Regions from separate parts of the Homo sapiens genome. Here region 1 is linked to region 2. Evidence: promoter capture Hi-C in 16 types of primary human blood cells and fetal thymus (Javierre and others, 2016). All regions are on one chromosome and are shown on one strand. The core of a region is centred on a gene start or on the middle of the fragment in contact, and the rest is flanking DNA. Distances in the headings are between cores, read along the strand shown. Region 1 holds the start of SPATA41 (spermatogenesis associated 41). Region 2 holds the start of TM2D3 (TM2 domain containing 3).

Evidence for each region. The method cuts DNA at HindIII sites, captures the fragments that hold promoters and counts their contacts. A CHiCAGO score of 5 or more calls a contact.
Region 1: a contact is called between the fragment with the promoter of SPATA41 here and the fragment with the promoter of TM2D3 in region 2, in 1 of 17 cell types (neutrophils). The highest score is 6.0, in neutrophils.

What each region holds. Positions count from the first base shown.
Region 1 is chr15:100,349,126-100,352,433 of GRCh38, forward strand. SPATA41 (spermatogenesis associated 41) reads right to left here and starts at 1,593. Exons shown (of 2, transcript NR_028139.1): 1 at 1-1,593. LOC105371021 (a long non-coding RNA gene) reads left to right here and starts at 481. Exons shown (of 3, transcript XR_007064777.1): 1 at 481-557; 2 at 1,250-1,820; 3 at 2,554-3,019. RefSeq lists an enhancer at 761-1,020. The HindIII fragment of the contact is 2,620 bases long and covers 1-1,913 here.
Region 2 is chr15:101,650,923-101,654,103 of GRCh38, forward strand. It overlaps TM2D3 (TM2 domain containing 3), which reads right to left and starts at 1,459. Exons shown (of 6, transcript NM_078474.3): 1 at 1,349-1,459; 2 at 774-851. The coding sequence starts at 1,439. It overlaps TARS3 (threonyl-tRNA synthetase 3), which reads right to left. Exons shown (of 19, transcript NM_152334.3): 19 at 2,674-3,181. RefSeq lists silencers at 1,047-1,606, 1,847-2,036 and enhancers at 1,697-1,756, 1,863-2,753. The HindIII fragment of the contact is 10,431 bases long and covers 994-3,181 here.

The DNA of each region.
Region 1 (3,308 bases), core at 343-2,842, 1.3 Mb before region 2:
CAAACAAGAGCCTTATACAGGCAGTGTCTTTCTGAGTCTGATCCCTGTTGTCTTGAGAGCTGCGGTGAGGGAAAGTCGTCTTCAGAGCCCTCAGGGTCAAAGCAGTTTGTTACCCTTGAGATAGACAAAGCTCCTAACCTCTCCAGCTTTTTGCCGACAGCTCGATTCTGATGGGCACTGACCTTTTCCGACCCTGTTTTCAGGAGCCGACTCCTGGCAGGTTGGTTGTAGGGGCCCTCTTGAGTGCTTCACACACAGCAGTCCTGTTGGGGTGAAGGTCACCGTCACTGTGATAATTGTTGTCGTCGTTGAAACCACCCAGCCCGAAAGCAGCATGGGCTGTGCCCAGAGCCGCCGTGCCAGAAGCCCACGCTTAGAAATAGAGGGCCGAAGACCAAAGAGGACTGCGGGTTCTTGGGCCAAACGTGACCCTCTCAAATCCCCCAACTCGGGGATTTCGTTAGCTGGGGACTGGTGTGCCCGGGTTCCAAGACCCCTGCGTAGACTCTGTCTATAGGTGGAAGAAGGCCTTTGCCCCGAGGCATCCAGAGGTAACGGTGAGAGGAACAAGGGCACGTGGGGGATCCCACCACAGCCTCCCCTGAGACCCTCTTCACGCTGGTTGCAGGAGTAGCCAACCCCGCTCCCTGGCAGCCCGTGAGATGCCACATCCCCTCCAGCAGGGGGCGGCCGGCATCGGTCCCGTCTTCCTAAACCGGCGTTGGTGGGAAATGCCGGCACCAGCTCCCTCCCCGCTCCAGAGCCCTGTTTTCCCCATTTGTATTTCACTACTTTCCTGTTGAGCTTGGATTCCAGCCTCAAATTCCGCGATTTGGCCGGCATCCTAATCCCCGAGTGACTCTTGCCAACCACTCTCTGTGGGGCCTGTGTGCTTCCTCCTGGGTTCTGGGGCGCTGGCGGCGTCCGCTTCACCGGGAACGGGAGCCCCAGCCTCCCGAGGCCTTCCTGCCTGGCTCTGGGAATGGCCACTGTCCAGAAAGCCCCGCGGCCGTCCATGCTCGCTCGCTCAGTCAGGCCCTTGTGGGGATATTGCAGAACGAGTCCGAGTTACTATCCCTTTAAATACAGGCGTTTCGGCCTAGCTGCCGCCGGTCCAATCCGCAGCGCTTCCGTGCCCCACTTTCCCGCGTCAGCCTGGCTCCGGCCTCCACCAGGGGGTGCTAGTGAGATCCCAGCCAGCCTCAGAGCTGAGCGTCCAGGGCCTTCAAATGTCCCCATCCTTGAAAAGGCAACTCCAGTGGCATCTTCTGCGGGGAGACCAGAAGCAGCATCTGACGAGGAGACAGCACTGGCGGTCCCGACACAACTGAATCGGCAGGATGAGGGCCCTTAGTGTTAGGCACCGGCGGAGCTGCATCCCACCCCGTCTCGTCCCCTGAGAACAGCTGTGAGAAGCCGCCTATTTTTCATCGTTCTGCAACACACCTTTCCCTTCCTTGGGATATTTCTCCTCTTTCAGCATTGCCGCATCAGGGTTCCAAAGCCCCGTTTCTCTCCTAGTTCTTTCTTTGCTCAAGAAAAGCAGCTTGTCTGATAAACTAAGCTATGTATGATTCGCTGCCAGTACAGACTGAAAAACAAAATAAACTCCCAATTCACAGTCCTCCGTTGCGTAACAGTGAGCAGACGTTCTGAGAAATGCATCGTCAGGCAATTGCATCATTGTGCAAACAATATAGAGTGTACTTACCCAAACCTAAACAGCACAGCCTACTACACACCCAGGCTGTAGGCTGTGCTTCTAGACTACAAACCTGTACAGTGTGGTACTGAACACTGTAGGCAACTGTAACACAATGGTAAGTATTTGTGTATCTAAACATAGAAAAGATACAGTAAAAATATGGTATGAAAGATTGAAACTGGTGCACCTGCCTAGGGCACCTACCGTAAGCTTGGAGCTTACGGGACTGAAAGTTGCTCTGGGTGAGTCAGTAAGTGAGTGGTGAGTAAATACGAAGGCCTAGGACATTACTGTACACTACTGTAGACTTTAAAACCCTGTACACTAGGCCCACACTCAATTTATTTTTAAAAATTTTCTTTCCTTCAATAATATATTCACTTTAGCTTACTGTAACTTTTCTACCTTAAGAATTTTTAAATTTTTTGACTCTTTTAATAACAGCTTGAATACACAAACACATTGTACAGCTATACAAAAATATTTTCATTCTTCATATCCTTATTCTATAAGCTTTTTTCCTACTTTTGAAGTTGTTTATTTTTTACATTTTAAACTTTTTGTCAAATATTAAGACACAAACACACATTAGCCTAGGCCTATACAGGGTCAGGATCATCAATACCACTGTCTTCTGCTTTCACATCTTGTCCCACTGGAAGGTCTTCAATGGTAATAACACACATTCTTAGTAAATGCAAATAGTCATGGCTCAGACTGATATAGTAATGATAGACTATTCAATATGTGGTATTGGACAGCTGTTTATATATTTGTACGAACCTAAGTTAGATTCTGTGGTGGTTCAAAAATATATCCTCTAATTATGACCTGCTTCCCTTCAACAGGTGTACCTAATTCCTCTGCCTAGAAAGTGTGCTGGAATTACTGCCTGGCTTCTGATGAATAGGGCGTATTGAGAGTGATGCTTTGTGAGTTCTGAGGCTAGGTCATAGAAAGGATTGAACTTATTCCTGAATGTTGCTCTTGGATCACTTGCTTTTTTGGGAACCACCAGCCATGTCATGAGGACACTCAAGCAACCCTGCAGAGAAGCACATGTGTGGAGAGGCACTTCTTGGAAAGGAGGCCAACTTGCCAGAACCAACTAATTTGTCATGTGAGTGAGTCATTTTGGAAGCAGATCCTCTACCCTCAGTCAGGCCTTCCGATGATTTCAGCCCCCAGCCTTTGAGTCTGCCCCAAACACCATGAGTAGAGACAAGCCCTTCCCACTGTGTCCACCCTGGCTGAATTCCAGACCGTTAAAAAAACAAGAGAAAATAAATTATTATTAGTGTTTTGAGTCACTAAGTTTTGGACTAATTTGTTATGCAGCAATAGCTAACAACTACAGAGTCATAACACAAACTAAAATTAATTCTAAGGCATGTTAAAGATTTATATGAAAGCATTCATCTAATGGAGGTGTGCAAGAAGTGGCTATAAAAAATTTAGGGCACCCAAAAGCAACCTGTAGGCTGAGCAGGGTAAGTACATCTGCAAGAGCAGCCAGATGGCTAGTTGGTCCCTGTGTGCAGCCTCTCTACCCACCCATGGTATAGGTCCAGGAATGGAACTGTTTAGCTTCCCTAGGAAACAA
Region 2 (3,181 bases), core at 209-2,708:
AAATTCAAGTGCACTGCTGTTTTTTACATCCAAATAAGAATCAGTAAAATATCTCTGCCAGTTTCAATTCACTGAAGTAATGTCACTTTAAAGTGATGAAATTATAGTCAGAGCCTCCACCTAGCAAAACACACTAATGCTTGTTTAAAACTGGTCCTACTTTACTCACTGTATTAAGGAACAATTCTACAAAATACTCTTTTTGATCCCGTGACTATGTGGCTGGAAGGTGGACACTTAGAATCACAAAGCAGAAATGACTTTAGGTCGTCAGACCAACCCCACCGCTTTAAAGATGAGGACCAAGGTCCAAAGAGGATAAATAATTTGTTCAAGATCCCAGTAGCAAAACCAGATCTAGATTTCAAGTCTCCATCAGTCCCGCTGTAATCCTTCCATTTCCACAGTCCTGAGGGAGCCTTTAATATTCCAACATCAGGAACAGGGTTTTAGCAGTAGAGGAAATTTGCTGAAGGGAAAGAAGCACGGACTGAAGGTTATTTTGATGGATGAAGTGGAAAAATAATAGAAATAAGGTGACAAATGAGCGTGGGATTGGAAAAAGAGAGGAGGCAGAAACGTCAAAAGGTATAAATACGAAGACTATCTACTGAAAATGGCTGTGTATCTACCCTTAATTCACATAATCTAAAATACAATAAATATTCAAAAATGGAAAGTGACTTCGTATACTAAAGGGAATTTTTATAAAAACAAAGAGAAACTACTAGAGATAACTACATGTATTTACTAGAATAGAAAACGTCTAGTACCTGCTGCCCTGGGAACTACTGTGAATGTGCGTGTTGGGCCCGGATCCTTTATTGACTGAGCCAGCGCCTGCGATTGCTCTAAATTTAAGGATCGTACAATTAGAGAAACACGTTATCCCGGGACAAGAAAACCTTATTTTGTGTGGTTAACACGGCGGGTCTACACCAGGCCAATAAGCTGCTCATGAAAACCTCACGGCTGGTCAGCCAGAAAACACAAAGCTTAGGGACGAAACGTCAACAGAGTAGACATCAGTTCAGGTCAGCCGGCAACGAGGGACCGAAGGATGACATCGCGCTCCAGTTCCGCCTCCCCGGCCCAGCCCCCAAGCGCTCCATCTCCGTGCCAGGGCTCCGCAGCCGCGATGGCGGGCTCGGTGTCGCCGGAGCGGAGGGGCGGCCTCGGGCCGGGCGGCCAGGGCGCCAGACTCCAGATGCAGCGACAAGCGGCCCGGAGCCCGGCACTCGGCCTCCTCCCCGCGTCAGCGTCCGCCCGTGGGCCCGGCCTCCTCGCAGCTCCCGGGGCCCTGCTGCCACTCAGCCCCACCCGGCGCTGAACCCAGCCTTTGACTCACCACCGCCCGACAGAATGCAGAACTGCGAGAGGAAGAGCAGCACGCGACACAAGGCGCGGAGGCCCCTCAGCGGGAGCACCCCTCCCGCCATCTTGCCAGCGCCTGCGCACTTCCGGGCCGGGGGGCGGGGCGCGCCTGGGAGCCGGAGCGTGAACTGGACGCAGGCGCGCTGCGACTCCTGGCGGCCGGCGTTTGCGCTTTCGCTGTCCTCGCGCGGGTCGCGGGTTTTCTTCCGGTTGAGCCTTCTGGGAGGTCCCCGAGGAGGATGCGAGCCTGGGAGGTTGTTCCATTTCCACGCGCCCCTCACGCCCTTGGACGAGGCCCTCACCCCTGGTTCCACTGCAGGAGACCTGTTAAAGGTCATCCGTGGACCGAAATGCGCGCCCGAAGCAACCAAGAGCAGAGGCGGGCGAACGCGGGAGGCTGGCCGCCCCAGTGTGTGGTCGGATGTTGTGTGCTGGATCTCGTGCGAAGGTTCCGAGGACACTATCGCGTGGCGTTTCATCCTAAAGACACTTATTTACAGTCGGGGAAGCGGCCCCGGGACGACGAGGGCCCGAGGGACCCCTCCCCTGGGGCCGGCGCTCAGGCCTGCCGCGGCTTTCACTTCTGGCCGGCCTCTTGAAGATACGCAGCACTTCCAGAAAGTTCCTCTCAGGCCTGGAGAAGCAGGATGGCCCGAGGCGCTGGGAAGTGAGGGGAGGGTCCAGAGCCCAGCCCTGCCTGGGGAAGGTCGCGGCCGTCTGGGGAGCCGCGCTCAGGCCCCAGCTTGCGGAGACCCTTGCCGGTTTCTGTCACAGCACACCTGGGAGAAAGCGCTGGTGACAGGTGCTCTCCTCCCACCCACGTGCTTCGGGATCGTTCATTCCGCGGTCTTCTGACTACCACCCCCTCACGTGCATGTTTGCTGAATGACTTTTTAAAAAATACATGGAAAAGTGCCGGCACATAAGCCCTGAATGTTAGCTTTAAAAATCGTATCACGGCCGGGGGCGGTGAATCACGTCTGTAATCCCAGCACTTTGGGAGGCCCAGGCGGGCGGATCACGAGGTTAGGAAATCGAAACCATCCTGGCTAACAACACGGTGAAACCCTGTCTCTACTAAAAATACAAAAAAATTAGCCAGGCGTGGAGGCACGCGCCTGTGGTCCCAGCTACTGGGGAAGCTGAGGCAGGAGAATCGCCTAAACCCGGGAAGCGGAGGTTGTAGTGAGCCGAGATCGCGCCACTGCACTCCAGCCTGGGTGACAGAGCGAGACTCCGTCTCAAAAAATAAATAATAAAAATCATATCACACAATCTGCACCTTATACTACTACACAAGCCTGATATATATTGTTTTGTTTGCCAACTGTTTCACTGTTCACATCCCTCAGGAAGTTAACTAAATGATCAGTATATTGAAAAGAGATTATTTCTTACATTTCTTTTGAATTTCACAGCATATCGCAAAATAAACAATACTTCTTGTTTGGTAGCTGAATTCTCTATTGACATAATGCCATTTTAATTCAGTTCTGAGCACGTAGAGCATTCCTCTCTTTAAAATCTGAAATCCATTTCAGTACATAAATCCATGGAATGTCATCCCATCAAAAAAGTAACAACTCTAGGTGAGCGGCTTAGTGGTGGTAGAAGCCCACAGCTGAAACGCTGGAAACACTGATGCAATTCATTTGGGAATTTATTTTTTTCTAAAGCGGAACAAAACCTAATTATGAATAAGAAACATTTAAATGGCAACTCTTAACCTATAGTGCAAACACCAGATTCCACAAAACTGAATTCCTTTGTCAGTAATCCAATATTTAGCAGTAGCTGCTGCTTTTGT